Regions from separate parts of the Homo sapiens genome. Here regions 2 and 3 are each linked to region 1. The links are contacts of gene promoters, found by promoter capture Hi-C in blood cells and fetal thymus (Javierre and others, 2016). All regions are on one chromosome and are shown on one strand. The core of a region is centred on a gene start or on the middle of the fragment in contact, and the rest is flanking DNA. Distances in the headings are between cores, read along the strand shown.

Region 1 (2,700 bases), core at 87-2,586:
TCATGTCTCACTTTCTTTATAACTTAGCCAATATAATATTTATGATTGGATTTATGAATCTGATTAATGAAGTACCCTGTGTGGTCCTTAGATGTCTATAAGGTACCCTACCTGTAATCCCACCACTTTGGGAGACCTGGGCAGGAGGTTCACTGGAGTCCATGAGTTTGAGGTTGCATTGAGCTGAGTGTACCCCTGCACTCTAGCCTGGGCAACAGAGCAGGACCCTGTCTAGGAAAAATTTTAAAAAAGAACAAAAATAAAAGGTTTAAGTTTTATTTAGCAAATATCCAGGTACCATGCTAGAGGGAAGAGGAAATGCAACGAATGAGCAGGGGCATTGACGTGTGAGAGAGGACGAAGCTGGAAGAACCGGCAGGGACAGAACTGGCTAAATGGTGCCTGTGTGGGCACCTCGTACCCCAGGGCCTTGCTAGCGTCTGGTACATGGGTGCTCAGTAAACAACTGTTGGGTGACTTTTGTCTGAACTTAACTTTTTAATTAAAAAAAAATTTTTAGCCGGGTGTGGTGGCTCACGCCTGTAATCCCAACACTTTGGGAGGCCGAGGTGGGCAGATCACTTGATGTCAGGGGTTTGAGACGAGCCTGGCCAACATGGTGAAACCCCGTCTCTACTAAAAATACAAAAATTAGCCGGGTGTGATGGCGGGCGCCTGTAATCCCAGGTACTCTGGAGGCTGGGGCAGGAGAACCGCTTGAACCCGGGAGGCGGAGGCTGCAGTGCGCCAAGATCGCGCCACTGGACTCCAGCCTGGGCGACAGAGCGAGACTCCTTATCAAAAGTAAACTAAAATAAAAATTAAGGCCCGCGCGGTGGCTCCCGCCTGTAATCCCAGCACTTTCGGAGGCCGAGGCGGGCGGATCGCAAGGTCAGGAGATCAAGAACATCTTCGCCAACTTGGGGAAACCTCGTCTCTACTAAAAATACAAAAATTAGCCGGGCGTGGTGGCGCATCTCTGTAGTTCCAGCTACTCAGGAGGCTGAGGCAGGAGAATCACTTGAACCCGGGAGGCGCAGGTTGCAGTGAGCCGAGATCACGCCACTGCACTCCAGTCTGGGCTACAAGAGCGAAACTGTCTCAAAAAAAAAAAAAAAATGTAGACGAACCTCCAACGAACGGCTCACCTTGCCTCTCCCAGGCCCCACCGGGGGAGGTCGATTCCATCGACTCTCAACTGCCAACCCCTGAGGAGGCTCCGCCTTTCCCTCACCCTCGTCCTTCTCCTAGGCGGTCCTTGTTTTTGCCGGGCCTTTGAAAGTCTCGCGATAGCTCTCCCGCTTCCCATAACTCCGTGCGCTCTCCCCTCCCGTCCTCTTTCCGCCATCTTTCCGCGCCGGTGAGTAGCACTCTCTGAGAGCTCCAATTTCATCCGTCTGCCATCGGCGCCATCCTGCAATCTAAGGTTCGGTCTCGGTGTCCTGCGAGGAGGCTGGTCCCCACCTTGGCCGAGGATCCTGGCCTTGCCGGTTCCTGGACAGGCATAGAGGAGAGCCATGGCTGGGCGCCCCAGACTGTGCACTCAGGGGATCCCGGTCCGTGGGGTGCAGGCCGCAGCGCGGGCGGGAGCCGGAGCCTTCGACTGCCCAGCTAGGCGGTAGCTCCGGTTCGGGCCGCAGCGTCTGGATCTCCCTTTAGTGCTGAGGCAGCGCCTTGGCCCCGGGCGGCGGGCAACATCGGGGCTGGTGGGCCGTGCAGCTTCTCACTGCTGCGGCCGCGCTGGGAGCTTGGGAGGCTGAGGCCACCCAGCAGGTAAAAGCTGCATCGTGCCGGGGTTGGCAGTTTGCTGGGTGCCAACTTGGATCTTCTGGGCCGCAGAGTTTTTCTTTAGACACTTTTGAACTTAAGGAATTTAAGTTCTACTCTTTACTATTGGCACTTTGGTCTTTCAAAACTTCAGTGTAGTGTGCGGTTCTTGCCCATTAGAAGAGAGTCCAGTCTGACAAGCATGTAAAATGTTTCTGTTTGCCACTGTGGCTCTTGCTGTTGGACGCAATTTTAAATGGCACGAAGATGGATGTTTAATAGTTAGATGTGTTCATTGTAGGTGAGAGTGAACTGATTTAAAGTACAATGTTAATAGTATGGAATCTGCTGATTTTCAGCAATTTGGAAAATGTTGCCGATGATACTCTGCTTCTGTTCTGAATCACTGATCGACTATACCCGATGTTTTCCTTCCGGTAGCTGGCAGTTTCTGCCAGTTCTCACGTTGTCTTGTGTCAAGTGGATTTTGTCCCACATTTTATTATCTCCAGACGTTGGTGTGTGGCACGATTCGAAGAAGAGTGGTTAGTGAATGAATGAGTTTCAAAATGTGCAGGCTGACGTCCCGATAACCTGTTTTCAACAACCGTAGTAAATAGGAATTTTCCTGGGTGGTGGGAAATGGAGAAGCAGCCTGCTTAGACTTGAGAAAACTTCGCCAAGGTGGGGCCAGAAAGGAAAGGATACTTCCGCAGTGTAATGGTTGGTGTCTGTTGATGTTGGCAATGCCAGTAAAACCTCCTGTTTTGTCTTCCTTGAACAGCCACAATGGTGCGCATGAATGTCCTGGCAGATGCTCTCAAGAGTATCAACAATGCCGAAAAGAGAGGCAAACGCCAGGTGCTTATTAGGCCGTGCTCCAAAGTCATCGTCCGGTTTCTCACTGTGATGATGAAGCATGGTAAGTCTGCT
Region 2 (2,851 bases), core at 56-2,555, 3.2 Mb after region 1:
GCCTTGACTACGCAGTCTTAGGTGATTCTTCCACCATAGCCTCCTGAGTAGATGGGGCTACAGGCATGCACCACCACGCTCAGCTAATTTTTTGTAGCCATGGGGTTTTGCCATGTTGCCCAGGCTGGTTGGGAACTCCTGGGCTCAAGCAATCCACCCACCTTGGCCTCCCAAAGTGCTGGGATTGCAGGCCTGAGCCACGGTGCCTCGCTTGCATTTATTGTTAAGACCTGTAAGAGTGTTGTTGCTCTGGCGTAGATATAACACATCTGCGACTTGAGATTTTTCTATCAGTTAGATTTTTGGTGGTATATCAGATTGCACTTTCATCATTAGTAAACTAAGAAATTGGTTCAATTTGTTCTGTAGCAAATCAAATTCAAAGTCCACAGAGGCCACTTAGTTTGGACTTTTCATGCTCAGATCAAGAAACCAGTGCAAGAAGTTGCTCTTAAGTCAATTTTAAAATCTTACATATAGTTGTCAATGAGGATGTGGTGGTGGCTCTTTTACTCAGATTAGATGCTCTCTTCTGTTAACTTTTGACTTTCCTGAGCAGCATCTTTAGGGAGAGAGAGCCGAAAAGAATTCAGAAAAACTGTAGAAAAAATTGATTCCAGCCAAGTGAGGAGGTGAAGTCTCACTCTGGAATATGCAAGTTTCCAAGATATGGCTACCTCTCTCAAACATGGTTACATGTGGAAAGGAAACAAGACTCATGGAGAGTTCATTTTTTATTTGAAGAGCTATGAAACATGAAGAATGGCAGATTATAGATTTTTTAAGAAATCAGGTTGTTGCAGTTAGATTTTAAGCATAAACAGTCAACCAAGTTTACCAAATTTTATTAACCCGTAATATGCTCTGATATTTTGTGTTTTTTTCTTTCTTTATTTTATTATTATTATTTTGTTTGTTAAGATTTGAATTGTTGGCCGGGCGCAGTGGCTAATGCCTGTAATCCCAGCACTTTGGGAGGCCGAGGAGGGTGGATCACTTGAGGTCAGGAGTTCAAGACCAGCCTGGCCAACTTGGTGAAACCCCATCTCTACTAAAAATATAAAAATTAGCCAGGCATAGTGACAGGCTCCTGTAGTCCCAGCTACTCTGGAGGCTGAGGCAGAAAAATCGCTTGAACCCGGGAGACGGAGGTTGCAGTGAGCTGAGATCGTACCACTGCATGCCAGCCTGGGCGACAGAGCGAGACTTCCTCTTGAAACAAAGATTTGAATTGTTGAGAGCCATAGGACTGTAAATATAGCTGTGGTTTCACATTTTAGTATGTTGTAAAATTTGTACTTATGCAAGGAAATAACACTGAAATCTTACTCATTCTTAACAGGGTGGAAGAATGAAAGAAAAGAAAGATGAAAGGATGTTGAATCACTTTGCATGGCTGTATGATGGAAGGAAACGGAACTGAGAACTCCTGCAGTAGAACACGTGGATGGCTTCAACAAGATAATGATGCTAAGCCATGGCTTTGGAAATTCTCTAATTGCTTTTCTCGTCCTGAGCAGACGCTGCCACATAGTCCCCAAACGGTAACTATATGCAAGACTAAGGATGTAGCAGATTCCTCATCCAAATAGATGAGAGAGGTCCATTTGGTCTGGGATACAGTCTCTCATCCTAGAGTCTGTGCCACATTTTTCTGTAGATCTTGCCTGTATTGCCTCTTATACCACATTATAATGTGAGAGCACAGCACAATTTTTTAACTCTTCTATTTCACTTTGAGTAACAGTAGATGCCTTGAATATTTAATGTTAAAATTTGGGAAAGATTTCTTCCTCATTAAAGTCACAGGTAACAAAGATTAAAAATCCACATTGTGGAGTAAAATCAGAGGAAAATACAAAATATGTTGTATTTTACTGTAGCCCTCTTGAGTTTTGAGTCTATAATCTAGGAAGGGTTGGGAAGAGCTTATCCACTGCCTGTTTTTTATTTCGAGATTTCTCTTGAATATTTACTTCTCAGTATACATTTATGTCTCTAACTTCTTGCTTACTCATTGTGATTTTGACATTTTCTTTTTTTTTTTTGAGGTGCAGTCTTGCTCTGTGGCCCAGGCTGGAGTGCAGTGGTGCGATCTCGGCTCATTGCAACCTCTGCCTCCCAGGTTTAAGCAGTTCTCCTGCCTCAGCCTCCTCAGTAGCTGGGATTACAGGCCTGTGCTGCCATGCCTGGCTAATTTTTGTATTTTTAGTGGAGACGAGGTTTCGCCATGTTGGCCAGGCTGGTCTTGACCTCCTGACCTCAAGTGATCCTCCCGCCTCAGCCTCCCAAAGTGCTGGGATTACAGGCGTGAGCCACCGCGTCCAGCCAATTTTGACATTTCCTGACTTCATGCACTCATGTTACCACCTTTCTATTTCTTATTTTCTATTGTATGTGGGATTCAAGTGAGACTGTAATATAATTTTATATAAGGGTATTAACAACTTTTATTTGATTTTATTTTTTGAGACAGAGTCTCGGCTCAGCCCCCTAGGCTGGAGTGCAGTGGCACGATCCGGGTTCACTGCAACCACTGTCCCTAGTTCAAGGGATTCTCCCGTCTCAGCCTCCCTAGTAGCTGGGTTTACAGGCACTCGCCATTATGCCTGGCTAATTTTTGTATTTTAGTAGAGATGGGGTTTCACCGTGTTGGCCAGGCTGGTCTTGAACTTCTGACCTTAGGTGATCCACCCGCCTCGGCCTCCCAAGTGCTAGGATTACAGGCGTGAGCCACCGCGCCTGGCCGGGTATTAATAACTTTTTAAAAACCAGTTTAATTCTCTATTTTCTCTAGGTTTTCACTATATAGTTGTCTTTGTTGCAAGACATCAAGTAATTTGGGTCATTT
Region 3 (2,756 bases), core at 7-2,506, 3.7 Mb after region 1:
GGTGGGTGGATCACTTGAGTCCAAGAGTTTGAGACCAGCCTGGGCAGCATAGGGAGGCCCCATCTCTACAAAAAGTATAAAAATCAGCCAGGTGTGGCGGTGTGTGCCTGTACTCCCAGCACTTTGGGAGGCCAGGGTGGGTGGATTGCTTGAGCCCAGGAGTTTGAGACCAGCCTGGGGAGCATAGGGAGACCCCGTCGCTACAAAAAGTATAAAACTCAGCCAGGTGTGGCGGTGTGTGCCTGTACTCCCAGCACTTTGGGAGGCCAGGGTGGGTGGATTGCTTGAGCCCAGGAGTTTGAGACCAGCCTGGGCAGCATAGGGAGGCCTCATCTCTACAAAAAGTATAAAAATCAGCCAGGTGTGGTGGTGTGTGCCTGTACTCCCAGCACTTTAGGAGGCCAGGGTGGGTGGATTGCTTGAGCCCAGGAGTTTGAGACCAGCCTGGGGAGCATAGGGAGACCCCGTCGCTACAAAAAGTATAAAACTCAGCCAGGTGTGGTGGTGCAAGCCTGTAGTCCCAGCTATTTGGGAGGCTAAGGTGGTAGGATCGCTTGAGCCTGGGAGGTGGAGGCTGCAGTGAGTTGAAATTGTACCACTATACTCCAGCTTGGGTGACAGAGTGAGAGACTGTCTCAAAAAATAAAAAAGAGGGGATGTGATTTCAGAGCCATCCATCCACTATTCCTGTGTAATCTGATTCTCTTTACAATGGTAAAATTGTTAAGAGTCTCACACTCTTTAGTAAAGAACTGTGATAGCTGGGTGTGGTGGGTCATGCCTGTAATCCCAGCACTTTGGGAGGCCAAGGCAGGAAGATTGCTTGAGCCCAGGAGTTCAAGACCAGCCTGGGCAACATAGTGAGGCCCTGTGTCTTTAAAAAACAAACAAACAAACAAAAAACTATAATAAAGGATTTTTGCATCTCATTTCATAGGTTACTATGACATCCGATTTCATAGGTTAAAAAAACCACCGCGCAGAACCGCATCGTTTTCTCTGCATTGTTCTGAATGACCGTGGCTGCTGCCTTTTTCTTTGAGCCTCTCTGTCCACTAACACACTCCCCACACACTAGCGTGCTGCCCACGCAGAGCCCACTTTGGCTCTCTCCACATCTTTAGTTTTTCCATCCTCACTAATTTACATCACTATTTTATTTTTTTTTTAATTAAACAGGAAAGAGCCAGACTTCTCAGAGGTCAGTCTGTTCAACAAGTGGGACCCCAGGGCCTTCTGTATGTTCAGCAAAGAGAGCTTGCAGTGACCTCCCCAAAGGATGGTAGGTTAGGAAGCAGTGAATTGGGCGTTATCCCAAAAGGCTATTGGATATTTTATTTTATTTCTTTTTTAAACAGGCTCCATCTCCATTCTGGGTTCTGATGATGCCACTACTTGTCACATTGTGGTCCTGAGGCACACAGGTATGATGAGAGAGGTGAAGGAAACCATTACTTAAACTGACCCAACCTTTGGGACCATTGAATTTCTCGTGTTGAGTTTCCTGGTGTCTTGTTGGAAGCGGACTCCGCTTACCTTTTTTCTGGTCTGCATGGTGTCTCCCTGGTGTCCTGGTCAGAATGGGTTGGCTGGGGAGCACAGACCTGTCCGTTTTTCCCCTACAGGATATTCAAAGATGAGGCGGTCCGGAGGGACAGGCGGAGTCTCGGCCTGCGCACTGCACTCGCATCAGGGAATAACTTGAGTCCTTTCACCCTTGTTCTTCAGGTAATGGGGCCACCTGCTTGACACATTGTGACGGAACCGACACCAAAGCTGAGGTCCCCTTGATCATGAACTCCATAAAATCCTTTTCTGACCACGCTCAATGTGGAAGGTGAGATCTACGCTGCTCTCATAGGTGAATTGAGATCTTGGAACCGTCGCATACAGGACGTGGCTGTGGAAGCTGTTAGGGGAACACAGGATGCCACCACTGCCGTGTCTGCCTCGTTCCCCTGGAACAGAACCTGGCACGACGTGGGCACTGCGTCAGCAGTGGTTGAGTGAATGAGTGGGTGCTGGGCACAGGCAAGGAGTCTGTGCTGGATTTGAGATGGAAGGCTTGACTTTGAACTTGATGTCGTCTCAGGAACGTCGAGGTTGCGATTTTCACATCGTTTTGCTCTCCCCCGGGTGTGGTAGCTCTCCATGCAGTCATTCCTCCCGCAGTTGCTTGTTAAATGCTTCCTCTCACCTACACCTTGTAGTTTCTAGGGACACAGCAGTGAAGAGTAGACAGAAAGCCCGGCCCAAGGTGTTTGTATTCCGAAGCCGAGAGACTGTACACAAGATGGGGTGTTGGGTGGTGAGGCGGGGCTGTGGAGAAAACGAGGCCAGGAAGATGTGGGGACCGCTAGGGGGCGAGGCATGTAGTTTTTTTTCTTGTTCTCTTTTTGTTGTTGAGATAGGGTCTTGCTGTGTCGCCCTGTCTGGAGCACAGTTGTGTGATCTCAGCTTACTGCAGCCTTGACTTTGTGGACTCAGGTGATTCTCCGACCTCAGCCTCCCAAGTAGCTGGGACCACAGGTGTACACCACCATACCCAGCTAGCTTTTTTTTTTTTTTTTTTTTTTTTTTTGGTAGAGACAGGGTTTTGCCAAGTTGCCCAGGCCGGTCTTAAACTCTTGGGCTCAAGTGATCCTCCCAGCTGAGGGGTATAGTTTTAAATTCCAGCAGATTGGTAGTTTCCCCAAGGATTGCTGGATAAGAAGCGGCCTCTAGCCTGGGTGCCCCCACAGCACCTCATCCTCTCT

Evidence for each region. Contacts are between HindIII fragments. The CHiCAGO score rates a contact against its expected background, and 5 or more counts as called.
Region 2: a contact is called between a fragment that was not itself captured here and the fragment with the promoter of RPS15A in region 1, in 2 of 17 cell types (fetal thymus and activated CD4 T cells). The highest score is 8.6, in fetal thymus.
Region 3: a fragment that was not itself captured here is called in contact with the fragment with the promoter of RPS15A in region 1 in 1 of 17 cell types (neutrophils); the score reaches 8.3 in neutrophils.

What each region holds. Positions count from the first base shown.
Region 1 is chr16:18,788,970-18,791,669 of GRCh38, reverse strand. RPS15A (ribosomal protein S15a) reads left to right here and starts at 1,336. Exons shown (of 5, transcript NM_001019.5): 1 at 1,336-1,426; 2 at 2,552-2,689. The coding sequence starts at 2,557. ARL6IP1 (ARL6 interacting reticulophagy regulator 1) reads left to right here. Exons shown (of 6, transcript NM_015161.3): 6 at 1. RefSeq lists enhancers at 1,099-1,728, 1,666-2,383. The HindIII fragment of the contact is 4,087 bases long and covers 1-2,700 here.
Region 2 is chr16:15,637,783-15,640,633 of GRCh38, reverse strand. It overlaps MARF1 (meiosis regulator and mRNA stability factor 1), which reads left to right. Exons shown (of 27, transcript NM_014647.4): 2 at 1,343-1,544. The coding sequence starts at 1,401. Among named protein-coding and RNA genes, the nearest start is that of MARF1, 3.9 kb to the left of the region's middle. The HindIII fragment of the contact is 6,127 bases long and covers 1-2,851 here.
Region 3 is chr16:15,046,523-15,049,278 of GRCh38, reverse strand. NTAN1 (N-terminal asparagine amidase) reads left to right here. Exons shown (of 10, transcript NM_173474.4): 2 at 1,180-1,282; 3 at 1,359-1,424; 4 at 1,729-1,837. It also overlaps a transcript of PDXDC1 not described here. Among named protein-coding and RNA genes, the nearest start is that of NTAN1, 8.2 kb to the left of the region's middle. The HindIII fragment of the contact is 4,295 bases long and covers 1-2,756 here.